Linked DNA regions of Homo sapiens: all the other regions are linked to region 7. Evidence: promoter capture Hi-C in 16 types of primary human blood cells and fetal thymus (Javierre and others, 2016). All regions are on one chromosome and are shown on one strand. The core of a region is centred on a gene start or on the middle of the fragment in contact, and the rest is flanking DNA. Distances in the headings are between cores, read along the strand shown.

Evidence for each region. The method cuts DNA at HindIII sites, captures the fragments that hold promoters and counts their contacts. A CHiCAGO score of 5 or more calls a contact.
Region 1: a fragment that was not itself captured here is called in contact with the fragment with the promoter of LDAF1 in region 7 in 5 of 17 cell types (erythroblasts, M2 macrophages, M0 macrophages and 2 more); the score reaches 10.9 in erythroblasts.
Region 2: a contact is called between a fragment that was not itself captured here and the fragment with the promoter of LDAF1 in region 7, in 1 of 17 cell types (fetal thymus). The highest score is 5.8, in fetal thymus.
Region 3: a fragment that was not itself captured here is called in contact with the fragment with the promoter of LDAF1 in region 7 in 9 of 17 cell types (erythroblasts, total B cells, fetal thymus and 6 more); the score reaches 17.6 in erythroblasts.
Region 4: a contact is called between the fragment with the promoter of EEF2K here and the fragment with the promoter of LDAF1 in region 7, in 5 of 17 cell types (erythroblasts, fetal thymus, monocytes and 2 more). The highest score is 12.3, in erythroblasts.
Region 5: the fragment with the promoter of POLR3E here is called in contact with the fragment with the promoter of LDAF1 in region 7 in 8 of 17 cell types (M2 macrophages, M0 macrophages, endothelial precursors and 5 more); the score reaches 15.8 in M2 macrophages.
Region 6: a fragment that was not itself captured here is called in contact with the fragment with the promoter of LDAF1 in region 7 in 7 of 17 cell types (erythroblasts, total B cells, M0 macrophages and 4 more); the score reaches 18.0 in erythroblasts.

What each region holds. Positions count from the first base shown.
Region 1 is chr16:22,394,047-22,397,395 of GRCh38, reverse strand. It overlaps the pseudogene SLC68A2P. Among named protein-coding and RNA genes, the nearest start is that of CDR2-DT, 21 kb to the right of the region's middle. The HindIII fragment of the contact is 7,194 bases long and covers 1-3,349 here.
Region 2 is chr16:22,187,707-22,191,121 of GRCh38, reverse strand. SDR42E2 (short chain dehydrogenase/reductase family 42E, member 2) reads right to left here. Exons shown (of 13, transcript NM_001394319.2): 13 at 1-983. The coding sequence ends at 729. LOC124903666 (a long non-coding RNA gene) reads left to right here and starts at 3,110. Exons shown (of 2, transcript XR_007065028.1): 1 at 3,110-3,151. RefSeq lists enhancers at 1-55, 311-810 and silencers at 516-615, 756-805, 896-985. The HindIII fragment of the contact is 605 bases long and covers 1,480-2,084 here.
Region 3 is chr16:22,338,237-22,341,793 of GRCh38, reverse strand. LOC124903664 (a long non-coding RNA gene) reads left to right here. Exons shown (of 2, transcript XR_007065026.1): 2 at 3,312-3,557. Among named protein-coding and RNA genes, the nearest start is that of CDR2, 35 kb to the left of the region's middle. The HindIII fragment of the contact is 4,639 bases long and covers 1-3,557 here.
Region 4 is chr16:22,204,820-22,207,926 of GRCh38, reverse strand. It overlaps EEF2K (eukaryotic elongation factor 2 kinase), which reads right to left and starts at 1,649. Exons shown (of 18, transcript NM_013302.5): 1 at 1,248-1,649. RefSeq lists silencers at 1,149-1,418, 1,579-1,878. The HindIII fragment of the contact is 13,136 bases long and covers 1-3,107 here.
Region 5 is chr16:22,295,420-22,298,869 of GRCh38, reverse strand. POLR3E (RNA polymerase III subunit E) reads right to left here and starts at 1,461. Exons shown (of 21, transcript NM_018119.4): 1 at 1,333-1,461. It overlaps TRL-AAG2-4 (tRNA-Leu (anticodon AAG) 2-4), which reads right to left and starts at 1,730; the gene lies at 1,649-1,730. RefSeq lists silencers at 241-380, 1,391-1,840 and enhancers at 591-730, 1,173-1,717. The HindIII fragment of the contact is 19,375 bases long and covers 1-3,450 here.
Region 6 is chr16:22,356,676-22,359,975 of GRCh38, reverse strand. The region is part of intron 2 of CDR2 (cerebellar degeneration related protein 2); the gene reads left to right. Among named protein-coding and RNA genes, the nearest start is that of CDR2, 16 kb to the left of the region's middle. RefSeq lists a silencer at 1,686-1,755 and an enhancer at 2,626-2,705. The HindIII fragment of the contact is 9,749 bases long and covers 1-3,300 here.
Region 7 is chr16:21,156,518-21,160,050 of GRCh38, reverse strand. It overlaps LDAF1 (lipid droplet assembly factor 1), which reads right to left and starts at 1,377. Exons shown (of 5, transcript NM_001301771.2): 1 at 1,305-1,377. It also overlaps a transcript of DNAH3 not described here. RefSeq lists enhancers at 96-245, 380-880 and silencers at 1,138-1,317, 1,368-1,497. The HindIII fragment of the contact is 5,830 bases long and covers 1-3,533 here.

The DNA.
Region 1 (3,349 bases), core at 498-2,997, 1.2 Mb before region 7:
AAAAGAGAAAGACCGCCTTTTTTTTTTTTTTTAACTAAAATAAAGCCTTCTACAGATGAAAGATTTTGGCTCCCCATTCAACAGTGTGTTCCAACATAAGTGTTGGCAAACCTGTGGCAAAGGAGCCTACATCAAGACAGAGGGATAAAGGCAGTGCTGTGCTCACAGTGAAAGTCTAATAGATACCTGCTGCACTGAGTTGGCTGTACATAATAAGAGCTAACATTTCTAGAGGGTTTATTTTGTGCCAGGAACCGTTTTAAGTACTTTGGATGTTTTAATTCATTTAACCCTCATAATAATTTCCTTAGGTAGGCACTATTTTTTTGTTGTTTTTTAAGACAGGGTCTTGCTCTGTCACCCAGGCTGGAGTGCAGTGGCACAATCACGGCTCCCTGCAGCTTTGACCTCCTGGGCTCAAGCGATTTTCCCACCTCAGCCTCCCAAGTAGCTGGGACTCCAGGTGTGTGCCACTATGTCTGGCTATTTTTTTAAATTTTTTATAGAGACAGGGTCTCGCTATGTTGCCCAGGGTGGTCTTAAACTCCTGGGCTCAAGTGACCCTCCCACCTTAGCCTCCCAAAGTACTGGGAGCCATTGTGCCCAGACCAGTAGGTACTATTTTGATCCTCATTTTACAGATGAGGAAACTAAGGCACAGAGAGGTTGAGTAACTTACCTAGGATTGCACAGCTAGTAAGTGGAGAGCCAGGCTCCTCCTGGGCAGACTGCAGATCCATGCTCTTAACCCAGTTACTCCTCTGCCTCTCTGGGGAGTGTAATATGGAAGAGTGACAGACCTATACCAACAGTTATTAGGGAGACAGAGTATTTATTCATCCTTTTCTCCTTTATTTATTCAACTCCTCAAAAAGAAAACCAGCCTGAGGGCTGGGTGCGGTGGCTCACGCCTGTAATCCCAGCACTTTGGAAGGCCGAGGCAGGTGGATCACTTGAGGTCAGTAGTTGGGAGACGAGCCTGGCCAACATGGTGAAACCCCATTTCTACTAAAAATACAAAAATTAGCCAGGCATGGTGGCACATGCCCGTAATCCCAGCTACTTGGGAGGTTGAGGCAGGAGAATTGCTTGAATCTGGGAGGCGGAGATTGCAGTGAGCTGAGACCATGCCATCACACTCCAGCCTGGGTGGCAGAGCGAGACTGTCTCAAGAAAAAGAGAGAGAGAGAGAGAGAGAGAGACTGTCTCAAGAAAAAGAGAGAGAGAGAAAGAAAAGAAAGAAAGAAAAGGAAAGAAAAGGTAAGAAAGAAAGAAAAGGAAAGAAAGAAAGAAGAAAGAAAGAAAGAAAGAAGAAAGAAAGAAAGAAAGAGGAAGGGAGAAAGGGAGGGAGGGAGGACGGAGAGAGAAAGAGAAAATGAAAACATAGTGCTCACCCTTCATTATTTTATCCAATAAAGTGTTAAAGAGACTTAGCCAAATGAATAACAAGAACAACAGATTCCAATGAGCTGTCATTATTTTTTTTTTTTGTCTGAGGCAGAGTCTGTCACCCAGGCTGGAGTGCAGTGGCACCGTCTCGGCTAACTGCAACCTCCACCTCCCAGGTTCAAGTAATTCTCTGCCTCAGCCTCCCAACTAGCTGGGATTACTGACACCCACCACCACGCCCGGCTAATTTTTTGTATTTTTAGTAGAGACAGTGTTTCACCATCTTGGCAGGCTGGTCTTGAACTCCTGACCTCATGATCCACCCACCTCAGCCTCCCAAAGTGCTGGGATTACAGGCGTGAGCCACCACGCCTGGCCAAGCTGTCATTTTTTACCACAATAATTTACACGTGTTAATTCTCTAGAAATTAAGAATAAATTTCAAGCAACTTTGGATTTTCTTTTATTTTTTGTAGAGACAGGGTTTCGCTGTGTTGCCCAGGCTGGTCCCAAACTCCTGGCTTCAAGCAATCCTCCTGCCTCAGCCTCCCAAAGTGCTGGAATTACAGGTGTTAGCCATTGGGCCAGACCTGGATTTCCATTTTATAATAATTTTTTATTGAGATCAATAGAAAGTCCTATGTTTTTGTGAGGGCTTAAGAAAAATGACTGTTAAAATCTTTTGGCTATACTTCTCTTAACAACTAGTAACCAAGAGAGACTAAGAGAAAGTATTTACTGATCATATATCTGACAAAAGACATGTGCCTAGAATATACAAATAACTCCTACAACTCAATAATATGAAGACTAATTACTCAATTTAAAAAGACACAAATTATTTTAATAAATAACCAAAAAGATACATGGATGGCAAGTAAGCATATGAAAAGATGCTCAACATCATTAGTAGTCATTAGGAAAATGTAAATCAAAAACACAGTAAGATACTACATACCGGCCAGGCGTGGTGGCTCACGCCTGTAATCCCAGCACTTTGGGAGGCCGAGGCAGGCGGATCACGAGGTCAGGAGATCGAGACCATCCTGGCTAACATGGTGAAACCCCATCTCTAATAAAAATACAAAAAATTAGCCAGGCGTGGTGGCGGGAGCCTGTAGTCTCAGCTACTCGAGAGGCTGAGGCAGGAGAATGGCATGAACCCAGGAGGCGGAGCTTGCAGTGAGCCGAGATTGCGCCATTGCACTCCAGCCTGGGCGACAGAATGAGACTCTGTCTCAAACAAAAAAAGGAAAAAAAAAGTAAAGAGAAAGGTAAACATCTACCTTCCATACAACCCAGCCATTCTACTCCTAGGTATTTACTCAAGAGCAAGGAAAGCATATATCCATACAAAGACACAAAATGCTCATAGCTTTATTTGTAACAGCCAAAAACCAGATCCAACCCAAATGTCCATCAAGAGATGAAAGAAGGAAGTCCTGGCCAGAGCAATCAAGCAAAAGAAAGAAAGAAATTACATCCAAATAGGAAGAGAAGAAGTCAAACTATCTGTCTTTGGTGACAATATGATTCTATACATAGAAAACCCTAAAGACTCCACCAAAGGACTCCTGGAACTGATAAATGACTTCAGTAAAGTTTCAGGATACAAAATCAATGTACAAAAATCTGTGGCATTTCTTTACATGAATAATGTTCAAGCTGAGAACCAAATCAAGAATGCGATCCTATTTACAGTAGCCACAGAAAAAATTAACATACCTAGGAATTCATCTCACCAAGGAGGTGAAAGATCTCTACAAGGAGAACTATAAAACACTGCTGAAAAAAATCATATATGACACAAATGGAAAAACATTCCATGCTCATGGATTGGAAGAATCAATATTGTTACAATGTCCATACTGCCCACAGCAATCTACAGATTCAATGCTATTCCTATCAAACTACCAACATCATTTTTCACAGAGTTAGAATAAACTATTTGCAATTTCAT
Region 2 (3,415 bases), core at 533-3,032, 1.0 Mb before region 7:
TCAGAAACCGGACAGGCCGGAGGGAGGAAAAAAGGGGCAGGGCCAGGGCCTGGAGGGAGGGTCATGGACGTAGGAAAGATTCAGGGGGCGGGACAGAGGCGTGACCAGGACTCAGAAGGCGTGCCCAAACATGGAAGGGCGGGAAGGGGCGTGGCTATGACATGAAGGCGGGGTTAGGCCTGGAGAGCGGCTCAGGACTAGGCTCTGAAGTCAGGGGGCGGGGAAGAGGCGTGCCCAAGCCGTGAAGCAGGGGCGGGGTTATAAAACGGGGGCGGGGCTAGGTCTGGAGGTCTGCTCAGGGGCTAGGCCAGGAAATCAGTGAGCGGGGAAGAAGGCGTGCCCAATTTGAAGGGCGGGTCAAGGGCGTGGTCAAAACATGGAAAGAGACTCGGGGCTACGCGTCTGGGCCGACCAGGGACGTGGCCAGGATTCAGGGGGCGGAGCAGGAGCGTGCCCACTTCGGAGGGCGGGGCGGGACAGGACAGGGGCGGGGCCAAAACACAGGAAGGGCGCAAGGCAAGGTCTGGGAGTAGATAGGGGCGTGGCCAGAAGTCGGCGGTCCGGGCTAGGTCTGGAGAGCGGCTCGGGGGCGTGACCAGGATTCAAGGGGCGGAGCGGAGGCGCGCTCAAACCCAGAAGGCGGGGCAGGGGCTGGTACAAGCCCAGGGAGCCGGGCGTGGGCGAGGGTGCAGCGGGGCCGACCCTAGCGGGCGGCGGACGGCGGACGGTCACAGGCGCTCCACGGCGGCGTGCAGAGGCTGCAGGCCTAGGAAGTGCAGGGCCAGGGCGAGCAAGCCGAGGAACAGCAGCAGCCTGAGCAGCAGGCGCAGGAGGGTCCGCGCCGTGGAGCCGCGGGGCCGCCGGGTCGTGGACTGCACGTATAGCTCCACGGCGTCGGCGAACCTAAACTTATCCGGCGCGTAGCCGAGCTGGGCGCGGGCCTTGGCTATCTGGAAGGTGTGCGTCACGGCCACGCTGCGCACCTGCGGGGACAGGCGGGGCATCCGAGGGCGGGCCTCGTGGGAGGAGGACATCCTCTACTTCGTTGTTTACGGAAAGGGAAAAGAGAGGGCAGGGATTTCCCCTCCATTACATAGTGATTTAAAAGGACCCGAGTGCAGCGTCTTGCTCCTGCGATGCCCTCATTAGAGAGGTCTTCCTTTCTTCCTTACATGTTCATTTTTATTGGAGGGTGCCGCCTTTGCGTCGCCCCCTCCAGCCCCGCTGAATTCGCACCCTATTTAACTCCTTGGTCCCTAAGAAGCAAAGGTCTCACCCCTACACTCATCTTCCCGGCCTAGCACGGTGCTGGGACTCAGGAGGCCCTTGATACATTCTTAGGCATCCGCTAGGAGAAGGTGAACGCCTGCCAGAAACATCTGCAGGAAACGACCTTGGCTTCCTGCCCCCAACCCCAGACCAACTGTGACCAGGAGGGCCCCAGTCGCAGCCTTCATGCCCTCGCTTATTAACTAAGCTTCCCTAAGAGAGGAATTCGATTATGCAGAACTGATTGCTCTCCAGGGTCTAAGCTGTGTTTCCCCTGCTGCCAGATGGCTTGGGGCCCACTGGTTTGAAGGGTAGTAATGATAGCTATCAGCAGTTAAGGAACACACACCCTGCATTTGGCCTGGACTAAATCCTTTCTATGCCCTACCTCATTTAATCCTCTCAGGTGGTACTAGCACTATCTGTTCTGTGCATACTTGGAAAAAGGTCAGAGAGGTTGAGTGACTTGCCTGGGGTCGCACAGGGGAGCCAGGTTCTAGCCTAATTTCTTCTCTGCTGTGCTGGCACCTGGAGATGTTCTCCCACCTGACTCATTTCTTCCTCTCTTTTTCCTCAGCCGGACCCTGGGGAAGAATCCACCAGCTGCTGGATTCTCCCATGGCATTGAAACAGCCCCTGGGGTCAAACCTGTGGTCTTGGATGCTTAATGGGGGGTGAGGAGAGAGGCCAGTATTTGTCCCTTTTTTTCCTAGTCAGTAAGTGCAGGGCTTTGGGGAGCACAGGAGTTGAGTTACGCTAGATAAGCAGGGTCCCTAATACACCTAGATGTCTCTAGATGTCACCTCTGGGAAGCTTTCTCTGACTTCCTCAGAGTTGGCTGAGGCGCCCCTTCTGTGTGCACTGGAGTTTCTCGCGATTTTCCCAAGAATGGCTCTAATTACAGTGTTGAGTTGCCTGGTTAGTGGGCTGTCTTCCCCTTTGAACTAGGAGCTCCCTAAGGGCAAGGACTATGTCTTCTTGCCTCCGTTGCTCAGCACAGTGCCTGGTAACATTTATGTTAAATGCATAAAAGGCTATAAAGTCAAACTGGAGGGCTGGTTGATGTGTCACAGATTGACCAGCAGAGGGTACCCGAGCCACAGCCAAGGAACTTCCACAGTTAAGGACATTGCCCCTGAGCTGAACAAGGAAATCCCCAAGTTAAACAAGAGGGAGAGGAGCCAAGTCCCTGCCTGACCACAATTCAGCTGCACCCTGGCAGCTATTTTATGTGGATGTGATTCCTGATGCATTTTCACAAGCTAATGGTTAAGCTTGAAATCACTGAGGTCTGGGTTCAAATCCCAGCTCTACCATTTAAGTGAGTGATCACGGGCAGGTTATTTCACTGTGTGTCTCATTTCCTCCTCTCTAAATGGAGAGGACAATGTTGTCTACAACTCAGTTAAATGAGATAAAGCACAGTGCCTGGCATACTGTCACAACTCAAGAGATTGTCAGTATCATCTTATTCTCTCCTCCACTGATCCGGATGGCTCAAAGGAGAAGCCATAGGTGACTACTTCTTTCTGTGGCCCATTCTCCACTCTCCCCCTCTGACTCCCCTTGTTAAAGAGCACTGAACATGGAGTCTGAAGCCAATTCCAGTATGGTGTGGCCTTGGACAAATAATTTTCCTAGTGCTCAATTTTTCATCATAAAATGGAGATCACGATTTTTTTTTGACCTTTTTAACTTAGCAGGGCATCAGAGACAATAAAACGAGAGTGGACTGGAAGTAATTTTTTTTTTTTTTTTAGATGGAGTCTTGTGCTGTCACCCAGGCTGGAGTACAATGGTGTGGTCTCAGCACACTGCAACCTCCACCTTCCAGGTTCAAGCGACTCTTCTGCCTCAGCATCCCGAGTAGCTGGGACTACAGGTATGTGCCACCACACCCAGCTAATTTTTGTATTTTTAGTAGAGACAGGATTTCACTGCGTTGGCCAGGCTGGTCTCAAACTCCTGACCTCAGGTTATCCACCCGCCTCAGCCTCCCAAAGTGCTGGGAACAAGTGTGAGCCACCGTGCCCGACTGGACTGGAAGGATTTTTGCAAATAACCTCAAATACCACCGATTACTTTGCTATTTACAATCTGTGATGAAAACATCCTCTCTTTTAACTAAGCAAATATAAACCTGCAT
Region 3 (3,557 bases), core at 579-3,078, 1.2 Mb before region 7:
TGTGTAAGGTGTAAGATAAGAGTTCAACTTCATTCTTTTGCATGTAGATACACACATTTTCTATGTATAAAATCATGTCATCTGCAAGCAGGAACAATTTGACTTCTTTCTTTCTGATTTGGATGCCTTTTTTTTTTTTTTTTTCTCCAGAGTCTCACTCTGTCTCCCAGGCTGGAGTGCAGTGGCGCAATCTCAGCGCACTGCAACCTCTGCCTTCTGGGTTCAAGCAATTCTCCTGCGTCAGCCTCCCAAGTAACTGGGATTACAGGCTTATCACCACCACACCTGGCCAATTTTTGTATTTTTAGTAGAGTGGGGGTTTCACCATGTTTGCCAGGCTGGTCTCGAACCCCTGACCTCAGGTGATCCGCCTGCCTCGGCCTCCCAAAGTGCTGGGATGACAGGCGTGAGCCACCAGCCTTTTATTTTTCCTGTGCAATTGCTATAGTTAGGACTTCCAGTGTTTTGTTGAATGGAAGAGGTAAGAGTGGGCATTCCTTCTATACTTAGTTTGTTGATTTTTTAATCATGAATGGTTGTTAATTTTCAGATGCTTTTTCTGCATCTATTGAGAAGATTATATGGTTTTTGTCCTTCATTCTGTTAATGTGGTGTATCACAATTATTGATTTGCATATGTTGAACCATTGAACCATCCTTGCATCCCAGGGATAAATCCAACTTTGTTTTGGAGACAGGGTCTCACTCTGTCACTCAGGCTGGAGTGCAGTGGTGGTCATAGCTCACTGCAGTCTCAAACTCCTGGGCTCAAGCAGTCCTCCTGCCTCAGCTTTCCAAGCAGCTGGGACAATAGGCACACAGCACCACACCTGGCTAATTAAAAAAAAAAAATTTTTTTTTTTTTTTTTTTTTGCAGAGATGGGGTTTTGCTATATTGCCCAGACTGGGATAAATCCCACTTGATCCTGGTGAATGAGCCTTTTAATGTGCTGAATTTGGTTTGCTAGTTCTGGTGAGGTTTTTGCAGCTGTGTTCATCAAGGATATAAGGATATTGGTCTAATTTGCTTTTATTTTCTTTCTTTCTTTCTTTCTTTATATTTTTAGGTGGAGTCTCGCTCTGTCGCCCAGGCTGGAGTGCAGTGGCGCGATCTTGGCTCACTGCAACCTCCGCCACCCAGGTTCTAGCGATTCTCCGGCCTCAGCTTCCTGAGTAGCTGGTATTACAGGCATGCGCCACCACTCTCGGTTAATTTTTAGTAGAGACGGGGTTTCACCATTTTGGCCAGGATGTTCTCAAACTCCTGACCTCAGGTGATCTGCCCATCTTGGCCTCGCAGTGTTGGGATTACAGGCATGAGCCACTGTGCTCGGCCTAATTTTCTTTTCTTATAGTGTCCTTGTCTGGATTTGATATCAGGGTAGTGCTGGCCTTGTAAAATTAGTTTGAAAGTATTCCTCTTCATCAAATTTTTGGAAGTTTCAGAAAGATAGGTAGTAGTTTTCCATAAATGTTTAGTTGAATTCGGCAATGATGCCACCAGGTCCTGGGCTTTTCTTTGATGGCAGACTTTTTAAAATTATTGATTCAACCTTCTTACTCATTGGTCAGATTTTCGGTGTCTTTGTGATTCAGTCTTGGTAGGCTGTATGTGTCTAGGAACTCATCCATTTCTTGTAGGTTATCCAGTTTGCTGGTAATTTTTTATGGTAGTCTCTTAGGATCCTTTGTATTTCTTTTCTTTTCTCTTTTTTTTTTTTTTTTTTTTTTTTTTGAGACAGAGAGTCTTGCTCTGTCTCCCAGGTTGGAGTGTGTAGTGGCGTGATCTTGGCTCACTGCAACTTCCATCTCACGGGTTCCAGCAATTCTCCCACCTAAGCCTCCCAAGTAGCTGAGATTACAGGCATGTACCACCACACCCAGCTAATTTTTTTTTTTCGAGATGGAGTTTTGCTCATGTTGCCTAGGCTAGAGTGCAATGGCATGGTCTTGGCTCACTGCAACTTCTGCCTCCCGGGTTCAAGTGATTCTCCTGCCTCAGCCTCCCAAGTAGCTGGGATTACAGGAACCTGCTAGCATGCCTGGCTAATTTTTTGTATTTTTAGTAGAGACAGGGTTTCACCACTTTGACCAGGGTGGTCTCAAACTCCTGACCTCAAGTGATCCGCCCACCTTGGCCTCCCAAAGTGCTGGGATTACAGGCATGAGCCACCGTGCCTGGCCTGATCCTTTGTATTTCTATGGAATCAGTTGTAATGTCTTCCCTTCTCCCTCTCCCTTCTTTCCTTTCTTTCTTTCTTTCTTACAAGGTCTCACTCTTATCGCCCAAGCTGGAGTGCAGTGGTGGGATCTCAGCTCACTACAACATTCCCTTCCCAGGCTCAAGTGATTCTCCTACCTCAGCCTCCCAAGTAGCTGGGATTACAGGTGCCTGCCACCATGCCCAGCAAATTTTTGTATTTTTTAGTAGAGATGGGGTTCACCATATTGACCAGGCTGATCTCAAACTCCTGACCTCAGGTGATCCACCTGCCTTGGCCTCCCAAAGTGCTGGGATTATCTTTTTCCATTTCTAATTCTATGAGAGTCTTCTCTATTTTTTCTTAGCTAGAAGTTTGTCAATTTTATCTTTTCAAGAAACCAACTGAATTTTGTTGATCTTTTCATTTTTTTCAGCTCTGGTCTTTACTATTTCCTTTCTTTTATTTATTTTTGAGACGTAGTCTTGCTCTGGTCTTTATTATTTCCATTTATGTATATATGTATGTATTTTTGAGATGGAGTCTTGCTCTGTTACCCAGGCTGGAGTGCAGTAGCGTAATCTCATCTCACTGCAACCTCCGTCTCCCAGGTTCAAGCGATTCTTCTGCCTCAGCCTCCCGAGTAGCTGGGACTATAGGAGCGTGTCACCATACATGGCTAATTTTTTTGCATTTTTAGTAGAGATGGGGTTTTTCCATGTTGGTCAGGCTAGTCTCAAACCCCTGACCTCAGGTGATCTGCCCACCTTGGCCTCCCAAAGTGCTGGGATTACAGGTGTGAGCCACCTCACCTGGCCTATTTCCTTTTATTAACTGGGCCTAGTTCTTTTTATTTTCCTGGTGCCTTGAGGTGTAACATTGGGTTGTTTATCTGAAGTCTTTTCTTTCTGATGTGGGTGGGGATTGCTATAAACTTCTGTCTCAGAGCTGCTTTTGTTGTATTTCATGTTTTGTGTCCATTTTTGTCTCAAGATATTTTTAAAATTTTTCCTTTTAGTTTTTTTCATTGGCCTATTTGTTGTTCAGGAGCATGTTTAATTTCCACGTATTTGTAAATTTTCTGAAATTCCTCCTGTTACTGATTTCTAGTTTCATACCATTGTGGTCAGAAAAGATACCGCCCTAATATATGATCTGTCCTGGAGAATATTCCATGTATGCTCGAGAAGAATGTGTATTCTGCTGTTGGATGGAATCTCCTGTATATGGTAGGTCCATTTTGTTTAATGTGTAAAATCTGATGCTTTCTTATTGATTTTTTTTTTTTTTTTTGGCCTTGATCTGTCCATTACTGAAAGTGGGATATTGAAATCCCCTACTATTATTGTATTACAG
Region 4 (3,107 bases), core at 400-2,899, 1.0 Mb before region 7:
ACCTGCCTCTTCCCCAGCTCAGCTTAAACAGCACTTGCTACAGGAAGCCTTCCCCCATAACCCTCTCCCCTTTACACACACAGTGGGCATTCTCAGCTCCCACCTGCTTGCTCTGTATTCCCATTTACTCCATCTCGCTTTTTAGAATCTGTTTATGTGACTGGCTTCCTCTTAGGGAGCTTCTGTGGGCCTGGGGATCACTCTGACCCTCGGTTTCCTCCTCGCTAAAAACATTAGGATAGACTACGTGACTCAATTCGCTGTGACTTCACAGCCTGTCCAGGGCCCTCAACCACAGGGCTCTTGGCCATCAGATGTCTCCCGGGGCCATAGACTATGACACTGTGTGCCAGGCACTGTTCCAAGCACCTGACATATACATACTCATCTACTCTTTCCAAGGATACTAAGTGGTAGATACTAATACTGTACCCATTTTACCGATGAGAAAACCGAGGGCCAGAGAGCATAAATGAGCTAGAATTCCAACCCAGGACTCCAGCCCTAGTGTTTCCTGCTTTCCTGGCTGAAGAAGCACCCACCACCGAGGTCCCAGAGGTCGGGCTCCCTGGGACCGTCCCCCTGGGCAGATCTCACTTCCCCATGCGGCCCATCTGTCACACTCAGGGCGCAGCTGGGCTGGTTCCCCGAAATCCCCCAGGCGCGCGCAAAAGGATCTAGGCCGGGGCTTACCCGGGAGGCCCCCACCCCCGCGCGGCCACCGGCTTATTAATGCCCAGCCCCTTGGCACACATGTCAGCAGCGCCTGCCAACAAACTCCCGCAGCCAACAATGCAGCAAGGGCGCGTCTATACAGTCCTGGAGGTTCCGGGAATTCGGGCTGACGCAGGCCTCTAGTTCAGGGGAAAGGTGGGGGATGCGGCTCTGAGCCCTGCAGGGGACAGGAAGGCAGCGATGCGCCCACACTCTAGGGGCCCCGAGGGGGGAGGCCCCCAAACTCTCTGTCACTTGCAGCCAGATCACCGCCCATTGCTTGCCAATTGCTTTCCATATCCACATCGCCTTTAATCCGCACAACTTCCCCATTTCTCCAAAGCAAGCACTTAGCCCCAGAGAGTTTAACAACCAGAGGAGAAGCGCCCCCACACTCTCCTTCCATGCCTTCTCCGGCCCCATTCCCAAGCCCAGACCCAGCACGCTCCAGACGCCAGCTGCACCCGGGCGCACAGGCCTGCAGCGCGGGCTCCCAGCCCCCCACAGCCTTGCCGGCCGCGGTCCACACCTACCTCCCTCGGGCAGACAGGCGCGGCAGCCGCTGCCCACGGCCGCGAGGGTCCAGAGGAGTTGGCAGAGGCTCGCGGCCCGGAGCTCCAGGGTGCAGGGCGGGCGGGCCCCCCGAGAGTGCCGGGGAGCGGAGAGCGGGGAGCGCTAGCTGGCGCTCCGGGCAAGCAGCTGGGGCCACGCGGGGTAGATGGACCGATCCCAGGGCGCGCGGGGCAGTCGGAGTGATCCCAGGAAGGGCGCAGGGGCCGTTGGGACGATCCCGGGATGTGGGAGCGCGTGCCAGGGGGGACTCGCGTGCAGGCGACAGCGAGCGGGACTCGGGTGGCTGCAGGGCCGGGAGTGCGGGCGCTCGATCCAGGAAGGAGGGGAGCTGAGGCTGAAGCTGGGGCTGGTCTAGGTTGAGCAGAAGCGGGCGGGCAGGGGCGGGGCTGGCCTGGCGGGCGCACGGCGTGGCGCTCACGTGGCCGCCCCCAGGTGGCCATCACAGCGCCTGCAGCCGCCTAGCGGGCCTCCTGGCTCCGGCGCTGGCTCCCAGCCCCAGGTGCAATGGTTAGCGCTAAGTCTTGGCTCCCCCTGCTGAGTACACAGTGTCCGGTTCTCCTGCTCAAGGCTGGCCTAGCATCCGGCAGCGAGGGGGCAATTCGAGGGAGTGACCAACTTCCGTCCTCTCCCGCCGCGCCTCGCCATTCTCGCCTGCTTCTCGCTTAGTTCCTGTATTCCTGTCCTTTCCAAAATCATTAGTGATCCAAGCCCATCGCTTGTTTGTATGTATCTCTATCCATAACCTTAAAATATTTTTTATCGGAAATACTTTGTTTTTCCTGATTTCTGCTTTGTAAAAACAGGCACGTATGACGATTGCAATTATTTGTGTAGTTTTAAAATTAGTATCTCCTTTAGTTATTCCTAACTCTTGACACAGGGCCTGGGTGGCACACAGTAGATGCTTAATAAATACCTGTGGCATGAGTGGTAGAGTGGCTAAGGTATAAAAAAGAAAACGAATTAAAACTAATAGCTACTGTGAACACTTTAATATTAGGTCCTTCCAGATACTTTGTTAGTGAAATTTTAGAAATTTCACACATTCTAGATAGAAAAGTAGTAACAATGACATGTTTTGAGGGATTTCTCTCATTCCATCTTCCCAGCACTTTGGGAGGCCGAGGCCGGCAGATCACCTGAGGTCAGGAGTTCGAGACCAGCCTGGCCAAAACGGTAAAACCCTGTCTTTAGTAAAAATACAAAAAAGCAGCCGGGCGCGCCTGTAGTCCCAGCTACTCTGGAGGCTGAGGCACGAGAATCGCTTGAACCCTGGAGGCAGAGGTTGCAGTGAGCCGAGATCGCGCCACTACACTCCAGCCTGGGTGAAGGAATGAGACTCCGTCGCAAAAAAACAAAAACAAAAAAATAAAAAAGAAAAAAGAACAAAACTGAGGCTTATAGAGATAATGACATGCCCCAGGTGAGGCAGCTAGAAAAGGCAGAGCCAGCAGTAAATCCAGACTTCTCTGATTTCAAAGTTCAGGCTCTCCAAAGAACTTTTTTCCTTATTTATAAACCCCAAAGAGAGTAAACTCCAGCTTTTGGCAAGACAAAATTGCACCTGGAATTCTGACCCTGGGGCCGTCAGGCAGGAAGGGAAGATCAAAGATGCTGAACTAGTCTGTCCAAGCCCAAAGCAAGATTGGAAAAAAAAAAAAGACGCTACTGCTTAAAGCTCTATGGCCCTTGGGCAAGTTATTTTACTTCTCTGAGCCTCTGTCATTTTTGTCTGCCCAGCAGGAGTGTCCTTCTTTGCATTAGCGTCTTGGTTAGTCTTCAGGGAACCAGTTCACCCTATTTCAGTTCAGGAAAATAGC
Region 5 (3,450 bases), core at 212-2,711, 1.1 Mb before region 7:
CTCTCAATACCTAGAACAGTGCCTGGCACGAAGTTGACACTCAATATAGTACAAAGAATACTTTATATTTAATCTTCTCATTAGCCCTATCAATAGAGATTTATCATCTTCAATTTGGAAATGACGAGACTGAGGTTCAGATATAAGCAACTCATCCAAGGTGGAATGAGGACAGAAACTTGGGTCTCGCTATGTCAAAGATCCTTATTCTTATTCTTAACCACTATACTGCACGGTTTTCTGATAAACGGCAGTATGGTTAAGTGGGTAAGAGCTTGGACCCGAGAACAAAACTGTGCAGGTTCAAATCCCACCACAGCTGCTTGGCATCTGTGACCCACCTGAGTTGTCTGGGTTTGGTATTCCTCCCTATTTTCATCCCTAAAGTAGGGAAACTAAGTACCGACCTCCAGACCCCTGCGGGGAAGGAGTAAGGACAGGACGCTAATAAACGTAACCTCTGGGAAGGTTTGTTATTACTTGACAACATGTTTTCTGCCAACGTAAGCGGGTAATGACGCTAAGCCACAAGTCAAACGCTGCAAGCAGGAGCGTCACCCGGTTTCTACTGAGCCGTCACCACAACCCTATGAGGTAGGAATTTCTATTATCTCTATTTCACAGATGAGGAAACTGTGGAGATCGCTAAGATCTCTTCTTTCCGCCTCCAAGCCCAAGGAATTCTAAAGCTAACCCAAAGGAACGACCTTGTTTGTTTACTGACACCTCCTCGGACCGAATGGTCAGGGCTGTATCCGGAACACAGAGTTGGCTCGGTAAACACTGAATGGTTGCCTGAATAAATGAATGAGGAATCCCTGGCCTCGCCGGGCAGAGGCTAATCCGGTTCAGCTGCGAAGTGGGGGCTCCGGCAGGCGCAGGTGCCCTCCCTGCCCATCGGGGCGGGCCGCCGATCCCGAGCCTCGCTGTCCAATGGGTTTCTGCTCCCTCGCGGGTGGTCAGGCCCCCCTTCTCACGCCCACCACGCAGTCCCTGCCGCGAGCCGCCACTACACCCGACGCGCGGACAGGTGTTTCTTCCGTAGGAGGCCTCCCAGGCCCGGATAGGGCAGGTCGGCTGGACCCTGAGTCACCGCCGCCAGCGTCGGCCGCGGCCTCCCCAACTCCCAGGTGTCAGGTCAAGGAAGTCAGAGTCCGGGGTCGGCCTGGAGCCGGCTGCCCCTCCTCCCCGCCCGAGTCCCGAGAGGCCTCCAGCTGCTAGGCACAGCGCGGCGCGGGCCTCCTTGGCCTACTCGGGAATCTAGCCCAGGCCCACGTCGTGAGTGCGGTCCGGCTCAAGCCCCAGCTCGGGCACTGCCAAGACGGGACTCACCTCTCCGCGGGGGCCGAGCGCGGACGGCGGCAACGGCCCAGTTACCCGCGGGCTGCAGAGACGGCGGCGGCCCGGCTCTCCTCTCAGGCGGCGGCCATGTTGCTGGTGGAGAAACTCCGGCGGACACGTGGGGGGGAGCGGGCCGGCCCCAGCGTTTCCTCTTACCCACAATGCCCCGCCCCGGTGCACGCGGCTCCGCCCCCTCCGCCGCGCCATTCATGCAGGCCGTGAGCCCCGCCCTGCAGCAGGGGGCGCTGATGGCACGCGCAAAACTGAGCCAGGAGTGTATGCAGCGGGGACAAAAAGACAGCAACCCTGGCAGCGGTGGGATTCGAACCCACGCCCCCGAAGAGACTGGAGCCTTAATCCAGCGCCTTAGACCGCTCGGCCACGCTACCCAGCTGCAATATGTTTATGCCAGAAAGCTACTTAATGCTTTTGCTTTTGCATTTAATCTGGACATTGCGAGGCGTTTTCGCTGAGGTTTTTTTTTTGCTTAACGTGTGTTCAAGGTGATCCCTATAGAATTATTTTAAAAAGCCGTGTTTTGGAAAATAAACACTTGCTCCAGTCTTTAGACCCAGGTTGGTTCCGAATAGGTATTAGAGCAAAACGCATTTTTAGAAACTTTACTCTGAGTTGGATGGTTAACCCGGAGACCCCTGGTTAACCCACAGGTAATCCATACGACCCGGATTGGGTGTCTCCGGGAGAAGAAATTGATCTGATCAGAAACATGCACCAGGGGATCTGACGGCCAAACCCTGGAGCTGGTCTGGGCAGTTGTCTCTGAAAAATTATGTTTAAATTTTTACTTACACAAATAACACGCGAATTATTGCAAAATATTTAAACTTTGCAGATAAGGTACAAATGCTCTTTGACCTTGACTCGCATCCTAGGCCCCTCCGCCGAGGTAACTAACCATTATTATCTGTTTAATATGAACTATGGTTTGAATGTGTCCCCCAAATTTCATGTGTTGGAAATTTAATCCCCAATGTGGCAGTATTGTGTGGTGGGCCCTTTAAGAGGTGATTAGATCATGAGGGTGGAGCCCTTATGAATGGATTAATCTCTTCATGGATTCATGGATTAATGGGTTAATGGATTAATGGGTTATCTTGGGAGGGGGACTGATGGCTTTATAAGAAGAGGGAGAGAGACCTTAGCTAGCAAGGGAGCAGCTCAGCACCCCCTCCATATGATGGCTTGTACTGCCTGGGAACTCTGCAGGTGTCCCCCACCAGCAAGAAGGCCCTCACCAGATGCACACTCTTGACCTTGGACTTCTCAGACTCCATAACTGTAAGAAATAACTTCCTTTTCTTTACAAATTACCCAGTTTCAGGTATTCTGTTATAAGCAACAGAAAATGGACTAAAACACTATATATCTTTCTAGATCTTTTGCTGTGAATTTATATGTTTATATCTATATGGATATATATAGATATAGCCATAGAAGATAGCTTTGTTTTTATTGTGTATGGATTTGAACACAAATATTGTCACATTATTCATATAGATCTGCAATTGGCTGTTATTTTTCACCAGACTGTATTTTAAAATACCTATCCGTGTGGATATGCAAAGATATTAAAAACAAAAATGCACAAAAATTACAAAGAAAAAAATTATCATCCATAGTGCCACCACCTGGCATTAAATTAATGACTTAGTATTGTGGCATTTTTTTCCTTTTCTTTTTTCTTTTCTTTTTTTTTTTTTTTTTTTTTTTTTTTTTTGATGTGGAGTCTCGCTCTTGCTGTCTAGGCTGGAGTGCAGTGGTGCGATCTCCGCTCACTGCAATCTCTGCCTCCTGGGTTCAAGCGTCTCTACTAAAAATACAAAAATTAGCCTGGCGTGGTGGCACATGCCTGTAATCCCAGCTACTCGGGAGGCTGAGGCGGGAGAGTTGCTTGAACCCGGGAGGCGGAGGTTGCAGCGAGCCGAGATCCCACCACTGCACTCTAGCCTGGGCGACAGTGAGAAACTCGGTCTCAAATAAATAAATAAATAAATAAATAAATAAATAAATAAATAAATAAAAAATAGATCACACTATTACAAATAGAAATTATTAGACCATTGCAAATAGAAATAAGTCCCCCTCCCA
Region 6 (3,300 bases), core at 14-2,513, 1.2 Mb before region 7:
ATGTATCAATATTCTACTGCATATGATACTTAATTGATTTGCTTTATTTTCCTTTCCCCTTATTTCCCATTGCAACAGTGAGCACTGTTGTGTTTATTCATGGTCTTTCACACATACTAGGTAATCAATACTTTGTTGAAATCAGTATTTTAACAGAGGAGAAACAGCTTACAAAGCTCTTCTAATAACTCCTAAACTTTGGGTTTCCACCTCTGGAGATTTTTAAGGCAGGCAGAAGGGGCTCTGGCCTCTGTTTTAGGAGATTCAGGTTTAAACCCTCAATTTTAATTGCAAATAGCTAGAGAATTTAGACATATGAATTACCCCTCAGATTCTCTTTGCTCCGTTATGGAATGGTGATAATGCTTACACTGCTTTGGTGTAGGAGTTTTCTGAGGGGATGAGATTATGGAGGCATATATATTTTGAACAGTATAAATTGTTACTTTGGTATAGGATTTTTCTGAGGGGATGAGATTATGGAAGCATATATATTTTGAACGGTATAAATCGTTGCATAGTTTACCAATGTTTTAAGAATTTTAGTAGTGAGCCGGTGGCGGTGGCTCACTCCTGTAATCCCAGCACTTTGGGAGGCTGAGGCAGGTAGATCACGAGGTCAGGAGTTCAAGATAAGCCTGGCCAAGATGGCGAAACCCCATCTCTGCTAAAAATAGAAAAATTAGCTGGGCGTGGTGGCGGGCGCCTGTAATCCCAGCTACTCAGGAGGCTGAGGCAGAGAATTGCTTGAACCCGGGAGGTGGAGGTTGCAGTGAGCCAAGATTGCGCCACTGCAGTCCAGCCTGAGCAAAAAAGCGAGACTCCGTCTCAAAAAAAAAAAGAATTTTAGTAGTGAAAAAAGTCTTTAAAAATTTGTATGGATATATAACAGCTTTACATATATCTGGGGCGCCTGTGACGTTTTGATACAAGCATACAATGTGTAATGATGAAATCTAAACTGAGATAACCATGACCTCCAACATTTATCATTTCTTTGTGTTGGGAATATTGCGTATCTTTTCTAGCTATTTTGAAGTATACAATAAGATATTGTTAACTATAGTCATGAAAGAACTTAAATTCTGAAAAAATAAATCTTCCAGAATTACTGGAAATAGACTTTAAAAACAATCTAATCCCACAATTTTAATAATGGGATTATAGGTGGTTTCTATTTTCATGTTCATGCCTCCCGCCACCAAATTTCTACAGGGGAAATATATTTCATCAGGGGAAAGAGATTTTTCAAAAGTAATAGGAAATATTTCTTTATTATTGTGGAAGTTCATTTTGATAGTAAATTCAGAGGATTTAGGCTGTAATCCTTAATTTCAGGATAATCCCAACACTGCTTACAAGCCAGATTTCCACTCCATTTCTATGCATTTTTACTTGGGGTCGTTTGTTTCTATCTTTCCCTGCGTTCCAGGTTAGGATTCCACAATTGCAAATAGGTATTTATGTAATTCTGCTGGCCTTTGTTTTTTAAAGATTTACCTTAATTGTAAAGGTGGCCTGTTTGTAGCTTTTGTGCATAACTGGAACCTTGTACTCATAGTTGAGGTGACAGTCTGTGCAAATTCCTAGACAGTGAGATAAACCCAAGGCATTTTGCTATAAGTTGACATTTTTGCCCACATTTCTGCTACCCCATGACCCCCTTCCCCCACTGTTTTGCTTTAAATGTCTCCCTTTCCTGTTTACTATGGCAGTCAGATTCATTGGAGGCTGTGTATCAAAGAGAAAACCAGCATGTCAGCAGCATGTCTGTACCTTGAGATGAGAGGTAGGAAATAAGCTAACCCATTTCCTTCTAGATTCAGAAAAAAAATGAAGCACTGACTCCATAGACCTAGATGTCTGGCCTTACATCAGTACGTACTTAGAGAGCTCATCATTTTTCTTTAAGTTGCTGACTGGTTTTGTCAGACTCTTCTGTAGGTCCCCTATAACTGAATCTTGGAGAAGTGAAGGGCTTTTCTGATTAATTTTGGTTTTATATAATAAGATTAAGCTCCTACCATGTGAAAACAAGCTCCTTGACATTCTTTAGATTGTTGTTAAAGCCAAGTCATCTAAAACCAAAATATCACAAGTTCTTAAATGGTTTCATTATGTTGTTATCACAGGTATCACAGGTTTTTATATATCAAACAAGGAACTTTCTATAGTTTCTTAAATGGCCTGTTTGTACTTATTTGCATATTGACTTGTTTCCTGTATGTTGGCCACAACTCTAACTTGAACATCCTATCTGTAAGAGAACAACAACTTGAGACCCATCTGGTATCTGGTAGGAACTGTAAAAGTCTCCCCCTCAGATTACCGGGGCAATTGCTGCCATGGGAATAAATACAGAGAAATAATCTATAAATGGAAAAGCGGGGAGAGAATTCATGGTTAATAGGCTGTTTTCCCAAGAGGGCTAAAGCCAAAGCCCTTCTCAAAACCTTTCAGTTAAATCCCCCTTGACATCTCACAGTCTGAGTCATGCCAAGCACAATAAGCTGTTGTGAAGAAAAGTCTAGAAACTGCCAGTTCGCCAGTATTTTTTTGTCCCCTACTGTGTGTCAGGAATGGACTAGATACACAAGAGCCTTCCATTCTTAGAAGACTACAGTACTGGCCTGGCACGGTGGCTCATGCCTGTAATCCCTTCACTTTGGCAGGCCGAGTCAGGTGGATCTCCTGAGGTCAGGAGTTCAAGACCAGCCCGGCCAACATGGTGAAACCCAGTCTCTAATAAAAATACAAAAATTAGCCTGGTGTGGTGGTGCAAGCCTGTAATCCCAGCTACTCAGGAGGCTGAGGCAGCAGAATCACTTGAACCTGGGAGACCAAGATTGCAGTGAGCTGAGATCGTGCCTCCAGCCTGGGCAACAGAGTGAGACTCCATCTCAACAACAACAAAAAATTGAATATTATTGTATTGTTTTGAGAGAAATCAATTTAGGGTACCTTGGGAATGCTGCCGCTTTAGACCTGCTTTAAGGTGGTCTTCTTTTTTTTTTTTTTTTTTCTTTTTTTTTTTTGAGATGGAGTCTTGTTCTGTTGCTGAGGTTGGAGTGCAGTGGCATGATCTTGGCTCACTGCAACTTCTGCCTCGCAGGTTCAAACAATTCTCCTGCTTCAGCCTCCCCAGTAGAGTAGCTGGGATTACAGGCATACACTACCTTGCCTGGATAATTTTTGTATTTTTATTTATTTTATTTTATTTTTTAGACAAAGTCTTGCTCTTGTCCCCCAGGCTGGAGTGCAGTGGCGTGATCTCGGCCCACTGCAACCTCCACCTCCTGG
Region 7 (3,533 bases), core at 128-2,627:
CACATTTTAATCATCCCAGCTAGACATCCTCTGCTACTTCCCTTTTGTAAAACAAGAAACCCTTTGGAGGGGAAAGTTGAGGAGGGGACTAATCCCACCACCCCACATTCTCTCTTTGAAGCTGCCTCTGGCGTAGGTCTTGAACTTGGGATGTTCCCAGCACTCAGTTCCCATAATCTCATCTCTGCAGCAAGCAGAAACAAGCGGAGTTCCCCTTACAGGTCTCCTTTGGCCTGGGAGCCTCAAGTGCCACCCAGACCGGTTTGGGGAGTCCGATGAGAGAGTGCGTGGGGCGAATGCCATCGGCCACAGCCTTCAAATGCGTCTACCTGGCCACCAATTCCCAGACCCCCTGGTCACTCACTCCTCGGAGGGGCCTCCCCAGGCACGGAGCTGTCTCCCGAGAAGGGAAAGCGAGAACCCGGCGCGGCCAAGGAGTGCCCCGCCTTCTTCACGCCTGGGGGACTGGGCCAGGCCAACACCAGCTAACCCTTTCCCCTTCCAAGGCTCCAAATAAATCTCCTGGCCCTCCCACCCCCGAACCTCCAGGGGAAAACGGCTACCTCGAAAGTTCAAGCTGGGAGGAGGGGTCACATCTCTGGTTGGGGGATGGGAGCTACAGGGCGCCTCGAGCTCACACTGGCCGCCCCTCCCCATCCGGGCCCAGCCTTTCAGCGTTCAAAAGCCAGGGAGACCCAAGGAGAGGAGGAAGGGAGTGAAATGCAGGTGGAGAGGGGGTCCGCGTCCCAGAAGGCACAGAGACTGAATAATGGGAACTCAGAGGGGAGTCGAGTACTTAGTTATTAATTTGGGGGTAAAGAAGCCCCCTTTGATACTTGCAGATCTCTCTGCAGCGATGGGGAAGGGGACCTCGGTGGAGAAGAGGGGCTGGGTGGTGAGGAAGGCGCCCGTTTTCAATAATCCTAGGGAGGTTTGCCTCGACGTCTTCCCCAGGTTCCCCAGAAAGGGGCACAGTCTCGGGGTGTGGTGGTGCTAGCTACCATTTTACCTAATCTAGTGGTAGTGTGTGTGTGTATGTGTGTGTGTGTTGGGGGGTGGCGGGGTGAGTGTGCATTTAGGGGTGGGGAGGAATCGTGTCTCCTCGTGCGCTCCCAGCCCCGTCCCGGCGACTCATAAGCAGGAGACGCCCCTTACACTAACCCCGGGGCAGAAAGCTACGGGCGTGGGACCCCGATAGCGCGCTCACGCCGTCGCCCCCGCGCTCCTCCTCTGTCCCCGCCCGGCGAGAGGGGTCTAGCCACCCGGGGCACCCGGACCCCCACCCCCAAGCTCCGAGCTCTCACCTGCTCCTGACCGCCGAGCAGCCCCCACCGCGTTTGCAGGCGAAGCGAAGAGAGGCAGGAGGAGGAACAAGAGGAAGAAGGAAAGAGCGTCCCGAGAGGGAGCCAGAGCCGCCTGCCTCCGCCCCCTGGCCCGGGCACCGCCCCTCGGCTCTTCTCCTCTGGGCTCGCCCCGCCCGTGGCCGGAAGGATCCGGCAAAGGCGCGCCAAGGCCCGGCGCCCAAGGCTTTGCAAAGCGCGCTCGCTCCCACTGGCTTTCGGAGCCACTAGAACAAGCCCTGAGAGGTTGACAGCTGAGGAAACTGAGGCTCAGAGAGTGTCCCTTCCCACACGACTGGCTTGGAGTGAGAAAGCTCAGACCACCTTCAAGACAGGCAGACTGGCAGCCGAGAATGAGTTTTCCAAGGGTGTCAGGGTTTCCCCTCCTGTATGCCTAAAACCAGCTGCTCTGGAACGTCTCTGGCGCTCAAGACACACACGTGATGAAGTATCACCCTGGCTGGAAGTTTTTAACCATGACTGCTCAAATGCGAATGTCATAAGCCAGTGAGATCCTTTCAGATGGATTGGATGTCCATTTTACACATGAAAAAGTCCAGGCTGAGAGAGACAAGATAAATCAATCCAAATTCCTCGGTTTGCATGGATCCAAGTCGGAGCAGGAGCCCCTGTTTCCCCTGGCCCCAAATCTGCCCTATAGAGTAAGGTTTCTGAATAGTATGCTATTGACATTTGGGGCGGAATAATTCTGTTTCTGAGCTGTGGATTGTAGAATGTTTAGCAATATCCTAGCCTCTACCCATTAGATGCCAGTTACAAGAACCGCCCCCCCCCACCTCCAGTTGTGTCTCAAAATATTGCCAAATGTCCCCTGGAAGGCCCCATCGTCCCGAGGTGAGAACCACTGCTATAGAGCATGATGGCAACTTACTGTGTGACTAAGTAACCTCTCTGAACCATGGCTTCAACCATAAATTAGAGAGAGGGATAAGCCCAACCATTGGTCTGCTGTTGCACAGTTCTCAGCCACTTTCCAGACAGGGACCTGTGTTGACCGACCTCTCCTCTTTGCCTGTGGCCATAGCAACCTGGAAAATAAGTCTTTAGATAACAAAAAGCTGGCAGGGTGCGGTGGCTCACACCTATAATCCCAGCACTTTGGGAGGCTGAGGTGGGCAGATCACTTGAGGCCAGGAGTTCCAGACCAGCCTGGCCAACATGGTGAAACCCCATCTCTACTAAAAATATAAAAACTAGCCAGGCATGGTGGTGCGCACCTGTAATCCCAGCTACTCGGGAGGCTGAGGCAGAAGTATCGCTTGAACCTGGGAAGTAGAAGTTGCAGTGAAGACACTGCACTCCAGCCTGGGCAACAGAGTGAGACCCTGTCTCAAAAAAAAAAAAAAAAAAAAAGAAGCAATCACAGGGTTGTAGTGAGGACTGGTGCAATAGTGTGGCTGTGGCTGTCGAGAACTTAGCACCTATTGAGGCACAGAGTAGGGGCTCAAAAATATTTGCTTGGGATGATGATTTATGATGATGATCACGACAATGATATGATAAACCACAGAATCCTGCTGTAATTCCACAATAGCAGAAAGAAGAGCTAATGGTGGGGATAGGACAGACAAGAATCCCTAAATTCTTAAGTTTTAGCCAATCTTGTCTGGCGTCATGCACTTTGTTCAGCTGCAAAATGCTGGGTTCCCCACCCAGGAAAAGATTGTGTGTGTGTGTGTGTGTGTGTGTGTGTTTCCTTAGATTACAGCCTTCCAATCATCATTCCCTAAATGGAAGTTGCTTTGGAAAGCTGAGTTAGGGTTTCCACTGGGATTTTTGTTTAAGAGTGCCATCTAGGGGCGTCTCTGTGAATCTTCAAATTCCTTCCACCTCTGGCATTTTTGGCTGGGCCAGCAGAGTTTTGCTTGTCTTTGTGTGATAGATGCTTCCTCCATCACATCATGTGTTCCTCCAGGGCTGGGATCCTAGCATCTCTCCATAGCATCAGGACTTGGCCCTCAAGGAACATGCAGTGGTTGGGTTAAAAAAATCCACGCGCAGCCTCTCCTATGCTTTCCCAATTACTTGCTGCAATGGACTGAATGTCTGTTCCTCTAAAATCCTAACCCCCAATGTGATGGGATTAGGCATGGGGTTTTTGGGAGGTGATTAGGTCATGAAGGTGAAGCCCTCCTAAATGGGATTAGTGCCCTTATAAAAGAGATCCCAGTG